2 separate regions of the Homo sapiens genome follow, and region 2 is linked to region 1. Evidence: promoter capture Hi-C in 16 types of primary human blood cells and fetal thymus (Javierre and others, 2016). All regions are on one chromosome and are shown on one strand. Each heading gives the region's core, a stretch centred on a gene start or on the middle of the fragment in contact. The rest is flanking DNA. Distances are from core to core; before and after follow the strand shown.

Region 1 (6,166 bases), core at 2,063-4,562:
CACACTTTATTTAACCCTCACAACAACCCACGAGGCAGCTGTTATTATTGTCCATGTTTTACAGATGAGGAGGTTAGGCACAAAGAGGTTTTTATAGTTAATTATCAGAGTGGTCTTCTGGGCAAGGACTTTTTCATGTATCCCTTTCTTCAGTAGGGAAATGGAAACCCAGGAGAAGGGCCTGAGCTGTGAAAGTGCCTGGAACTGCCTTCTGTCCTCCTGGCTGACACCCTGGACCTCTCCTGTCCTATTTCTCTGGGGCTCAGGTGCATCTACCCACTCAGTCTTCTTCGGGAGTTTCCAGGCTCCCCAGTTCCTCTAGGCAACGCATTGAAACTTGACTGTCCGGGGCTTAGCGAGGCCTTCTCTGCTCAGACCTACCAAGTAAACTGCCATCCTGGAAAAGCTGACGTCAGCTTTCCCCCAAATAAACAATAGTCCTCTTTACCTTAGCCTTGAACGATGTATGAAGGGATGTTTCTGTCATGAATAACACCCCTACCTGCAACCAGTAATGCAACTGTGCAGATAAGCTTAAGATTTCACCAGACAAAAGCTAAATAACTCACTTAAGTGATGGGCTGTTCTTTTTAAAAAATAAACTTTTTTACAGAAAAATTACAAATATCTCATTATTATATCTAACATTAATGTGGTTTATTACAATTAATGAGCCAGTATTGATGTATTATTATTAACTAGAGTTCATGCTTTATTCATATTTCCTTAGTTTCTACCTAAGGAAAAATGTCATCTTTCTGTTGCACACTCTTTTCCAGGATACCTCATTACCTTTAGTTGTTATGTTTCCCTTGGCTCCTGTTGCTGTGACAGTTTCTCAGAGTTCTTGTTTTTGATGACCTGGACAGTTTTGAGGGGTACTGGTCAGGTGTTTTGTAGGATGCCCCTCTATTGGAATTTCTCTGATGTTTTCCTCATGTTTAGACTGAGCTTAAGGGTCTTGGGAAGGACTGTCACAGGCAAAATGCCGTTTTCATGACATCATATGACGTGTACTTGATGTTGACCTCCACCATCTGGCTGAGGTTGCGTCTGTCAGTTTTCTCCGCAGGATAGTTACTCCTCCACTTCATACTGTACTCTGGAAGGAAGTCATAGTGTGAAACCTAATCCCTTTTAGCTGGAAAGTAGAGTCATTATTTTAAAGTGTTTATACCATTATTATATTATTTAAAAAATCTGTTTACAAATTGTTCTCTTTATAAAAGTTTTAAAAATTATTTTCTTCAATATTGTCAAGTAGCCAGTTTCTTGCAAGAACATTTTATGTATTGTGGGGATTATTGGGCCAATTTAGATTCCTTCAGTTTTGAAGCAGTAGATTTCAAAGCTGAATAGAAAAGTCTGCAGTTTTTGCTTTTATCAGCCGCCAGAGGCAGGCAGGCACAGGCTGTATACAAGAAATCCTAACTGTTGCCCCGTCCTGTTTGGTTGTTGTGTGAACATTGGGCAGTGCCCGGCTTTGTGTTGGAAGCATGTTTAATGAAGTCTCACAGTGCAAAACTGCTTCATACGGAGGAAGGGTTTAATCTGACTATTGGACCATTCCACAAAAAGCTCACTATTTCACATTTCTTTTTCTTTTTTTTTTTGAGACCGAGTCTTGCTCTGTCGCCAGGCTGGAGTGCAGTGGCCCGATGTTGGCTCATTGCAACCTCCGCCTCCCAGGTTCAAGCGATTCTCCTGCCTCAGCCTCCCAAGTAGCTGGGACTACAGGCATGCGCCGCCACGCCCAGCTAATTTTTGTATTTTTAGTAGAGACGGGGTTTCACCATGTTGGCCAGGATGGTCTCTATCTCCTGAGCTCCTGATCCGCCCGCCTCGGCCTCCCCAAGTGCTGGGATTACTATTTTTTTTTTTTTTTTGAGATGGAGTCTCGCTGTCGCCCAGGCTGGAGTGCAGTGGCGCGATCTCTGCTCACTGCAGGCTCCACCCCCCCGGATTCACGCCATTCTCCTGCCTCAGCCTCCCGAGCAGCTGGGACTACAGGCGCCGGCCACCTCGCCCGGCTAATTTTTTGTATTTTTAGGAGAGACGGAGTTTCACTGTGTTAGCCAGGATGGTCTCGATCTCCTGACCTCGTGATCCGCCCCCCTCGGCCTCCCAAAGTGCTGGGATTGCAGGCGTGAGCCACCGCGCCCGACCTGGATTACATTTTATGTGAGGTGCAAAGACCTACTGAAACTTCGTCTCCTATTGAAACTTGACCTAGACTACTGGGCTGACTCAGCATAAGGAAGTTACAGAACAGTTGATGATCGGCGTAAAGTTAAAGGGGTGAAGTTCTGTTGAAATCCTTCCCGTTTAATCACCGCAAAAACTGAAAGAACTTTACTTGCGACACTAAAACCACGCGTCTTGTGCACCCTCTACTGGTTTAACCACAAAGTACTAGTTTATTTACGAATTACTGCTGTTTGAACTGATAAGTCTATGAAAACAGGTTTTCATTTTTCCAAAAATTGCACCAAAATAAAGCAAAAGCTCTAGTTGATGCGGGTGTGTTGTTCAGGCGTTAGCAGTACTGCCCTCACTATGCGCTCATTGGACAGTAGCGCAACCCCAAGAAAAGGATGGTTATAATAGAAAGTCCCTGGGCTGCAAGCAGGAAGCGCCAATACCTGGTAGGGTTGTGGTAATTAATTCGTGAGCCTCGCCCTAGTCGGTCTGGTAGCTAGCTTACCTCCAGCCTCCACAGCTTTCGACGACACCCCAATTCTTTGTTTTCTGAGGCTCCCGAAGGGTCGCAAAAGCGGCGGCTCGGTTTTACCCAGAAGACCGCGCGTCGGCCGCTCGAAAATTTGCATACGCTTTTCTCGCCGGGGCGGGGCTGGCGGGGGCGGGACCGCGGCGCGCTCTTGAACTCCACCCGCAGCTAACCCGGGTTTGGCTACGCTGTATTGCCTTTTATTTCGTTTCTCCTCACCGAGTATTTTCCATTATAGCTGTACATAGCTCTTTTTGTGGAAGATCATCCTTCTTCGTGCTAATCTCTTTGGTCCTCCAGTCGGCATGCGTCTGGACTCTCGGACTGCGTCTGGGCCGGAAATGTCTAGGCCTCCCCGGAGCGGGTGGGCGGGAGCGCTGCCCCGCAGGCCGGCTGCTAACAGGCTCCCGGTGTTTCCCGCTGCAGGTGGTTCTGCTGGGCATGGACATCCTGTCCGCCCTGGTGACCCGGCTGCAGGATCGGTTCAAGGCGCAGATCGGCACAGGTGAGCTGCGGCACTTGTGGAGCGGACCCGGCCCCTTCAGACCCCCAGCCTTCCCTCGGCCTCCCCGGCTCCCAAACCCTCCCGGCAGCCACCCTGCCTCCCCTCCAGCCCCCTCTCCCTCCCTTCCGCTCCTCCCAAACAGCCAGTCCCCGCCCTCCCCCGCAGCCCCCCTAAGCACTCGCAGCCTGGGTCGGCCGCCCCGCTGCCTTCCCTTCCAGCTGGACTCCCCTGGCCTCTGGGCCTGCGGGCGCCCTTACCCTCCCCCATACCTTTGTACTGGCTTCACTGTGTTCTCACACGGAACTTAGTAATACGTGTTCTAATATGAAATATTAGTGCCATTTTTATTTCTTATGCTAAATTAGCTGTCACTCTTTAGTGCCAACCAAGTCATATTTTACCCTGACCCCGGTCCCCTTTAATGAGAGGCAGTTTTCCTTGAGAAATCCTATAAAACCAAGCCAGTTGTATTTTTCTCCAGATGATTATGGTTGGCATGACTATTTTCACCTTGATTGTAAATGTCATTACAAATGTATAGTAAATGTTCACTCTTATTTTGAAGGGAAAACAGTATGTCAGCAAAATGAAACAAAACCCACAGATTTCATAGATTTAAATACCTCTAAATTCCTGACCTCCGGTGTTTCATGGGGGTAGTATAAACACTAAGCATCTCTATGCAACCATTTCCTTATGGAATTTCTCTGTTTTACGTTGGTACACATGTATTCTTTACTGTTAACTTTCCGACCAATATGCTCCTTCTGAAAAGGTCATGAGCACCGACTGTTTACAAATTTAAAAAAAGCTTTTACTTTTAGACATTTGATATTTTAATAGTGTTCCATTTTCCTCCTAAATTAGCTGAATTATTCAGGGATATCTCATGTAATAGAGGTTTACAAACTCTTAAAATAAGCTGATCTCTGGTCTACAGGTGCACTTGGACCACTGGTGGGAGGGTCCACCCTGGGTATGTCGGGGAAGATGGAGAGCTGGGCTCTGTCTCATGTGTGTATGGGCGTGATGTAAAACTAAAAATACACAATAGTGATGAAACTTAAGATTTATTCATAAGTGCCCACTCCTTCCACCCCCAAACACATATACTGGAGCCCCTCTCCTTGTGTTTTACCTAAATTTTCCTTTCTGTTGACTCTTCCTCTCAAGGTCTTCCATTTTTATCAGCTTACAAATACGTTGGGAACTGGCTGGAGGAACGTGGGGTAAGGAGGAAGACAAATAGTGTATCTGTCCATGCAAAGGATTTTGCAGACTCTTTTGGTGACTTTCATGGACTTCAGCAAGGAGAGTAGAGCTGTGAGCAAAGATGAGTGGTTTTAGAATGAGATACATCATTTAGGTCAGGGGTTTGTCTTCCCACATAATTGAGATAGGAATACTTGGTGACCACAGACCCCCAAATAGGGTTTCATTTGATCAGTTTCCATTTTGATTTTCAGTGCTGCCAAGTCTAATAGACAGACTAGGAGATGCTAAAGACTCTGTGAGGGAGCAGGACCAAACTCTGCTGCTAAAGATCATGGATCAAGCTGCTAATCCCCAGGTAGGGGCAAGAGATGTGTTTTGAGGTCAGCTGGCCAGTGCGCGTGCATGCACGTGCGAGGGTGTGTGTGTGTACTTGCACAAATGGTGTGACTCCATAGACTTAAGCTGATGTATTACAGATAAAAATTTTCACAGCATTCAATCTGTTTCCCCATGCAAGATATTTAAATAAGTCACAAAACTATGAGATGAGTAAATTAGTGGATTTAACATGGGGGTATTGAATCTAATATACTTAGTTTTAATCCATTAGACTCTTCAGCTCATTTATGTAACCGACTCTCCAATTCTCTGAAAAGAGGGAGCTGTGGTGTCTGGGGAGTCAGGAGGCCTGGCTGGAGCCCTGGCCCCTGTCTTCCGGTGAATTGGGGCTGCTGGGATGGACCAAAACAGCCCTGCTTTCCCAGCTTCTACTGTCCTTTATTGGGGGGTGATCAGAAAAAACAGAGGCCAGTGTGAGTGTGTGATCTTTGGCAACTCACTAGCTCCTTTGGCCTTGCTTTCCTCACCCATAAAATGAGGACAGTTATACCTCTCTTTCAGGGTTCTTGGGAGAATTAAATGCAATTATGTAAATGAATGTGTTTTAAAAATTGTAATTTGATATACTTGATAACATGATAGATGTCATCATTTTCCAGTATGCTCTCGAGAGGATTAAATGTGTTGGTAGAGGATGGGACTAATTTGGCGCTCGTTAAGAGGCTTGCCTTCTATTGCTCCCTTATAAAGTGTCAGCTGCAGCAGTCTTCTCCTTTCCTCACCTGTTCTTTGTCATCTGCAGTACGTATGGGACAGAATGCTTGGAGGCTTCAAACACAAGAATTTCCGTACTCGAGAAGGCATCTGTCTCTGCCTTATAGCAACACTCAATGCGTAAGTCTGGGATGAGCCTGACATTTTTACGTGGCTGAATTTTTTAAAACTTTTTATTTTGAAATAATTATAGATTTACAGGAAGTTGCAAAGAAGTGTAGTGTGAGATCTCATGCCCCCTTTACCCACCCTTGCCCAGTGTTAGCACCTTGAATAACTATAGTACAGCATCAGTACCAGGAAGTTGAGATGGATACAATCCCTAGAACTTGCGCAAATTTCTCAGGTAAAACCACATGTGCATTTGTGTGTATATACAACTGCACAGTCACTGCCGGGCTCCTTCATGCTGCTGTGTGTAGCTGCACCCTGACCCCTGGCAACCATGAATGTATTTGAATTTCCAGGAATCTGTTCTCCCTCCCTATGATTTTGTCATTTCAAGAATGTTATGTAAATGGAATTATACAATATGTAACCTTTTGAGTTTATCTTTTTTTCACTCAGCATAATGCCCTTGAGTTTGCACCTGACATTTGATAGTT
Region 2 (6,166 bases), core at 2,257-4,756, 1.3 Mb after region 1:
CACTGACTCCATTTCCTCAAAGATAACACAGAAAACAGAATAAAAGGCTGGGCACAGTGGCTCACGCCTGGAATCCCAGCACTTTGGGAGGCCAAGGCTGACAGATGACCTGAGGTCAGGAGTTTGAGACCAACCTGGCTAAGATGGTGAAACCCCATCTCTACTAAAAATACAAAAATTAGCTAGGCATAGTGGTGCACCTGTACCACCCAGCTACTCAGGAGGCTGAGGCAGGAGAATTGCTTGAACTCAGGAAGTGGAGATTGCAGTGAGCCGAGATCAGTCCACTGCACTCCAGCCTGGGTGACAGAGTGACTCCATCTAAAAAAAAAAAAAAAAAAAAAAAGGAAAAAAAAAGACACACTAGGCTTTATGTGTCAAGGGTCTTTAGAATGAAGTTGTCCCCCCTTATCCATAGGGGATATGTTCCAAGACCCCCAGTAGATGCCCAAAGCCGCAGATAGTACCAAACCCCTATACACACTATGTATTTCCCTGTGCATACACACCTACGATAGAGTTTAATTTGTAAATTAGGCACAGTACTCTTGTGCTTTGGAGCCATTATTAAGTCAAACACGGGTGACCTGAACAGAGGGACAGTGATCTGGCGGCAGCTGATGTGATCGCCCAGGGAGCACGCCCGGTGTGAAGATGCTGGACAAAGAGAGGGGTCACGTCCCAGGCTAGATGGAGCAAGATTTTGTCACGCTACTCAGAACAGAGTGTCATTTAAAATTTAGGAGTTATTTCTGGAATTTTCCATTTAATATTTTCAAACCTCGGTGTACTGCAGGTAAATGAAAACTTGGAAAGATAAACCTCAGATAAGGGGGGACTACTGTATTCATTCCTTCACCATGGCATGTCTGTGTCTGAGAATCTACCCTTAAAAACAATCTGGATGCAAAGAAGCCGTAAGATAGAGCGCAGTCCCTTCATTTCATAAAAGAATGAAACTAACTCAAATACACAATGCAATGGGTGAGTAAAGTATTGCACTACCCTTAATGTAATATTGTGGGGCCACTGAAAACATGCTCACATGTTTATGGAAATCTGAGAAGTGTTTCTATCTATGGCATTTCATCACATTTAAGACACTGTTGATTAGAGAACACACCACCATTTCACGTACCTTTAAGGAAGAAAAAAATACCCAGAATGGTTATTTAATAAGGGACGTCTAAGTAAAGCTGGGATCCTAAAGGGCTATTTCTTTGGTGGGAGGAGAATGATAAACAGCCTCGTCAGGCAGAAAGAGCCAGTGTCCCAGCCATGGACCCGGATGCAGGGAGGGAACAAAACTGCCCCTGAGGACGTGCACAAGCCAGTACTCATGCTGGTTTGAGTCTGAATTTGCACAAACATATGGTCTGGAAACACCTCAAGCAAATGCTGTAACTGAATTTAAGTTTAAGGTTATGTCAAGTTGGCAGTGCCCCCAGGTGACTGGCAGAAACAAATACAACCACCTCTAGAAAGAACTGAATGTTAACACCAGCTGACAGTGCCTGTAAAACATCAGCCACTGTACAGTGCAAGATCCAGAGACGTTAAAATGTGAAGTGAGTTTTAGAATTAACCATAAGTAAAAAAGCAGAATCAAATGGGTATGTGGAGGATGACATCTCTTTGCCGAGTAGACCGACTGGAAGGAAAAACACAGTAAAATGTTCACAGTGATCTTCTGTAGGTGCTAAGACTACAGCATTTTCTTTCTTTAAACGAGTCTGCGTTTTCCAGCTTTTTCTAAAGTGACCATATAAAAAAAGGAGAAATAAGGAGACGCAAGTGAGAGAATGACTTTGGGTGGGGTAGTCAAGGAGGTGACCCTGAAGGAGGTGACACCTGAACTGAGAAGGGACCAGCACAGGAGAAGCCACCTGAAGAGTTCATTGCTACATGTGTATCCAGGACAAGGACCTGGGGCACAGGGAAGATGCTTGATATGTATTTGTTAAATGAATACACGGGTTAAGGAAGGAAAAAGCTGCTAAAACAGGAGCCTAAGTCTCAAGGGGTCCCAGCCAGAGTCTGGCTCTTCAGGGAGCCATTCTCACTGGACTGAGCTGATAAACAGGGCAGGGACGCCCACCTGGCCAACAGCAGGGCCCTGTGGAAAGTATGCAGCTGCAGAGTTAGCAGAGAACCATGGTTGTGGGTCTTGGGCCTGTTTCCCCATCTGTCAAATGAGGTTAGTGCTTTGCCACCTCTGTCTCTGAAGTCAGCTCCAGATGATATCGTGCTTTGAAATATTAAGCCACGTGCGAGCGTGAGGGGCTGTCACGCTCCAGGAGGTCCTCATGCGAGCCCAGCAGCACCTCCCTGTAACACTGGGAACTGTCAGCACCTCCCTGTAACACTGGGACCTGTGAGCTTCAGACAAGCTGCTTTGTCTCAGGAAGGTTCCCGTGCTCGCTGCTCAGCCCACAGGAGATGTCACATCAGCTCCTGTCTTCCTGCCCGCATGCACTTTCCAGATTCACTTACCATGTACGAGCCTGTGCTGGAAACTGCTAACAGAGATAAGAGATGGGTCCCTGTCCTTGAGAAAGTCACAGGGAGTCCAGAGAGTCAGATGAGCAAACAGGATGATACCCTGTGGGACCCGAGGGAGGGGACACACAATCTGCTGCTGAGAGGCAGTTAACAGCCACCACTGGGGGGAAATAATGGAGGCATTGTAGGTTTCCTACATTGTTTCCTTTTGCTGTCACAGTTTTGGGAGGTTATCTCCATTTCACAGATCGGGGCTGGAAACTAAGTCATCTGTCAAGTTCACAGAGTCTGGACTCGCACCTGGGCTGGGGTGACTCAAGTCCATGCCCACGGGCATACTACTGCACTGGTATGTGTGTGCTGGCAGTGGGGGGGGGCAGGGAGATGGGAGGAGGCTATTGTAGAGGTGACAGCGTGCTCTTCATTTAGAGACTGGGGCCAAGGGGTAATGGTGGGCAATGAGGCTGGCACAAGGGCCAGGTGGGCTGTGGATTCCTTGTGAAGAAGTTGATATGAGCAAATCCACAAATCCGGCCAAAAGGGAAATTTTCCCTGGGCTTTCTGCGCAGGTCATCCCCCTGTCCCAAGCCAGCCCCTCAGAGGACATTCAGCAAAGGCATCCCATGTCCTGCAGCCAGAGGGCTACAGGGAAAACTTAACTCCCACCAGCTTCCAGCTGCTCTGACTGGGACCATGCCCAGGTGTCACTGTCACCCTGGTCTGCTGTGGAGGGTGCCAGGCAAGAGTTCGCTCTCCCTGGAAACCCAGCTCAGCTCTTGCTAAGCAGTGGCTGTTGTGGGGCAGGAAGAGCCGAGCTGGGCCTGACCGCTGGTACGGAGCAGAATTCTAAGGAATTTGCAGATGGAATTGGGGTTACTAACAGGCTGACCTTAAAATAGAGAGGTGATCCTGGGTTAGCTGAGTAACCCAAAGTAATCACAGAAGCCCTCAAAACAAGGAAGGCAGAAGAGAGACTCCAGACATAAGGACTTAACCCACCACGGGTGGCTTTGAAGGAGGCCACAAGTCAGGAAATACAAGGGGCTGAGAATGAACCCCGAGGCCCATGGCTGGCAAGGCAACAGGAACCTCAGTCCCACAACTCGATGGAACTGCATCCTGCCAACACAGAACTCGAATGCAGGTTCACTGCCGGAGTGCCCACACCGAGATCTTGGCCTTGTGACTCAAGCGGAGCACTGGCTGGGCATATGATGCTGACTTCTGACTCTCAGTTCATGGCGGACAGTAACTGACTGCTGCTTTAAACTGATACACCTGTGGCAATTGGTTACCGAGGAAGAAAGATCACCTGGGCTGGAGAGTGGAGGGAACAGGGCCTAGGATGCTGGTGATGAAAGGACACAGGTCCCACTATCGGTGCCACGCTGGCCACAGGAGCATCTCCTCTGGGACAGGAGCATCGCAGTCATGAGTAGTGTTAAATGCATTCCTTCACTCATTCAGCCAACGTCTCTCAAACATTTGCTACGATATAAGTGCTAGCTGGGTGTCTGGAGCTCAAATCTCATGAAAGGACAGAAGGCCAAACAGACAACACCCAGGGAAATGAGTCCCAGGATAGGAACAAGGTCCCCGCCTGCCCCTACCCCACCTCTGGCACCCAGATGCTGTGGGAGGTGAGAGAAGGGTCACTGGTCCACCAGGGGTCGAGGTTTCTCAGGGCTTGAAGCCCTGTCGTGGGTCTTGGTGCCCAGGAAGGAGACAGAGGCCATGTCGGGGTGGGCCACACTCAGGGGGAAGCAGCAGACTGGCTGGGCTGGTACATGGACCATAAGGGACCTGGCCACCAGGTGTGCCGGGATCAGCTCAGGAGAGCCTTACAGTTCAGACAGGAAAGTTGGGACTGAGGATGCCAAGCAGGGGAAAGAGGCTGGGGTTAGGACACATCCCAGGACTTCCCCAACCGTTAGGACAGTGACCTTCAAACCATGTCAGCCCCTGCCCTCTGGGGCCATGTGCCCCCGCACACCCTGACTGGGGGATAGCAGCCCGTGCCGGTGGCCTGGAACACCACATCCACACACACCACCTGTAAGTGAATGAATTCACACTTTGGTTTGTGTACCAGCCTTGGGGACTGCTATGCCGCCAGCACCTGGCACATAGCAAACAATCCATGTTAGCTTTACAGGTAAATAAAAGACAAAGGCGGGTGTCTGAGAGACTGGCCGCATCAGGGAAAACAGTGAAGGAGGGGTGTCTGATGCCCAGGGCATGATGGGGGAGGGGTCAAGGCCTGCAGGCCAAAGGAAGCCAGCTGGGGACAGATGGCAGACAGCATCCCTCACCCTGTGGCACAAGCCTGGAAGCTGGGTCTGCCCTCCCTCAGGAGCTGTGCAGCAGAGCCACTGTTGCACTGTGACAGGACACCTTGATACCCGCTTCTTGGATGGAGAGGGTGCACTTGTTCTGAATGAGGAGCTCAAGGTGGGAAAATAAGCTCCGAGCTCTGTCTTTGCCACAAAGATGGCAGCAGAGGCCCTGAGTTCATCTGACTACATAGGTGATTGGGAAGGACTTCTGACTGTTCTCGCAGGGTCCAGAGGACCTGACTCTGCCACCAGCTCCCGGAGGGTGGGGGCGCTCCTGGCAGCGCCTCCCCTCCACGGGCTCTGCTTTCCTAGTGGGGTCAAATCAATTACTTGCAGGTCTCTAAATGCAAAGTGCAAAGTTCCATGTATTGATTCATCTAATCCTCAAAACAATCCTGTGTGCTTTTCCAAGCCCATTTCACAGATGAAGAGGTTGGATTGGTGAGGGGGTTTTCCACTTTTACAAATTTTTAGTTGACAAATCCTTCTTGGGAGAAAAGAGTACAAAAAAGACCAATGTGTAAAACAGACAGATTGGAGCAACTCTGTTTAGGGGAGGAATGGAGGGAGATAAGGCTCTCCAGAAACAAGAGGCCCTGAAGACACATCTATGAAGTCAGCCTTAAGGGCTGAGCCTGAGGACTGGTGAAGCTCACTCAGCTGGACTCCCTTCCCCAGGGCCACAGATTGCCTGTGGCTGAAGTGAAGTTGTGGAGAGCGCCTCGGGGGCTGGGACTGTCCGCCCGACACCTGGACACCCTGCTCATGCCCGCCTGGGGCAGTGCTGTGAGGGTGCGGGAGGGCCACTCCGCGGAGGCCCTGACAGGCCATGCGTTCCTCTGATGGCCTGTCCCACTTCAGAGCCCAGGACCTGCGTGACAACATCCCACAGCCACTTCAGGAAAAGAGGACTAGGAGAGACTGGTGAGGGCAGCCAGGGCTCTGCTGAGCAGTGGGACAGCGGGGAAGACAGAAATCCTCCAGGGTCTGCCCAGATGGCCAGAGGGCGAAAGGGGTGCTCCAAATCACAGACCCGCTGCAGCCTTGCCCTTAGACACCACCCAGGTCTGTCCCCCAACTTCATAGACCAGGAAACTGAGGCCCAGAGAGAAAGAGGTGAATTTGCCTAGGTTTCTCAGCTGATGGGTGGCACGGCCTGGACAAGAACCCAAATCTCTTGACCTCTGGTCCAGTACCCTTTTCCAAAGGAAAAGGAAAACATGGTTTTGCGAGAATAACACAGAGACAGGGCCAAATAAGTCAAAATGAGGACTAGACACTTGAAGGTAGGAGCCCTGTATCTGCGACGCGATTCTCTGTTAACCTGC

What was found. Contacts are between HindIII fragments. The CHiCAGO score rates a contact against its expected background, and 5 or more counts as called.
Region 2: a contact is called between a fragment that was not itself captured here and the fragment with the promoter of CLASP1-AS1 in region 1, in 1 of 17 cell types (activated CD4 T cells). The highest score is 5.4, in activated CD4 T cells.

What each region holds. Positions count from the first base shown.
Region 1 is chr2:121,527,314-121,533,479 of GRCh38, reverse strand. CLASP1-AS1 (CLASP1 antisense RNA 1) reads right to left here and starts at 3,312. Exons shown (of 2, transcript XR_001739683.2): 1 at 2,705-3,312; 2 at 1-1,102. It overlaps CLASP1 (cytoplasmic linker associated protein 1), which reads left to right. Exons shown (of 41, transcript NM_001395891.1): 3 at 3,155-3,233; 4 at 4,700-4,803; 5 at 5,590-5,681. RNU4ATAC (RNA, U4atac small nuclear) reads right to left here and starts at 2,600; the gene lies at 2,471-2,600. RefSeq lists an enhancer at 2,923-3,052 and a silencer at 3,243-3,442. The HindIII fragment of the contact is 3,511 bases long and covers 536-4,046 here.
Region 2 is chr2:120,223,996-120,230,161 of GRCh38, reverse strand. No RefSeq gene overlaps it. Among named protein-coding and RNA genes, the nearest start is that of TMEM185B, 3.7 kb to the right of the region's middle. RefSeq lists an enhancer at 5,806-6,166. The HindIII fragment of the contact is 7,669 bases long and covers 1-6,166 here.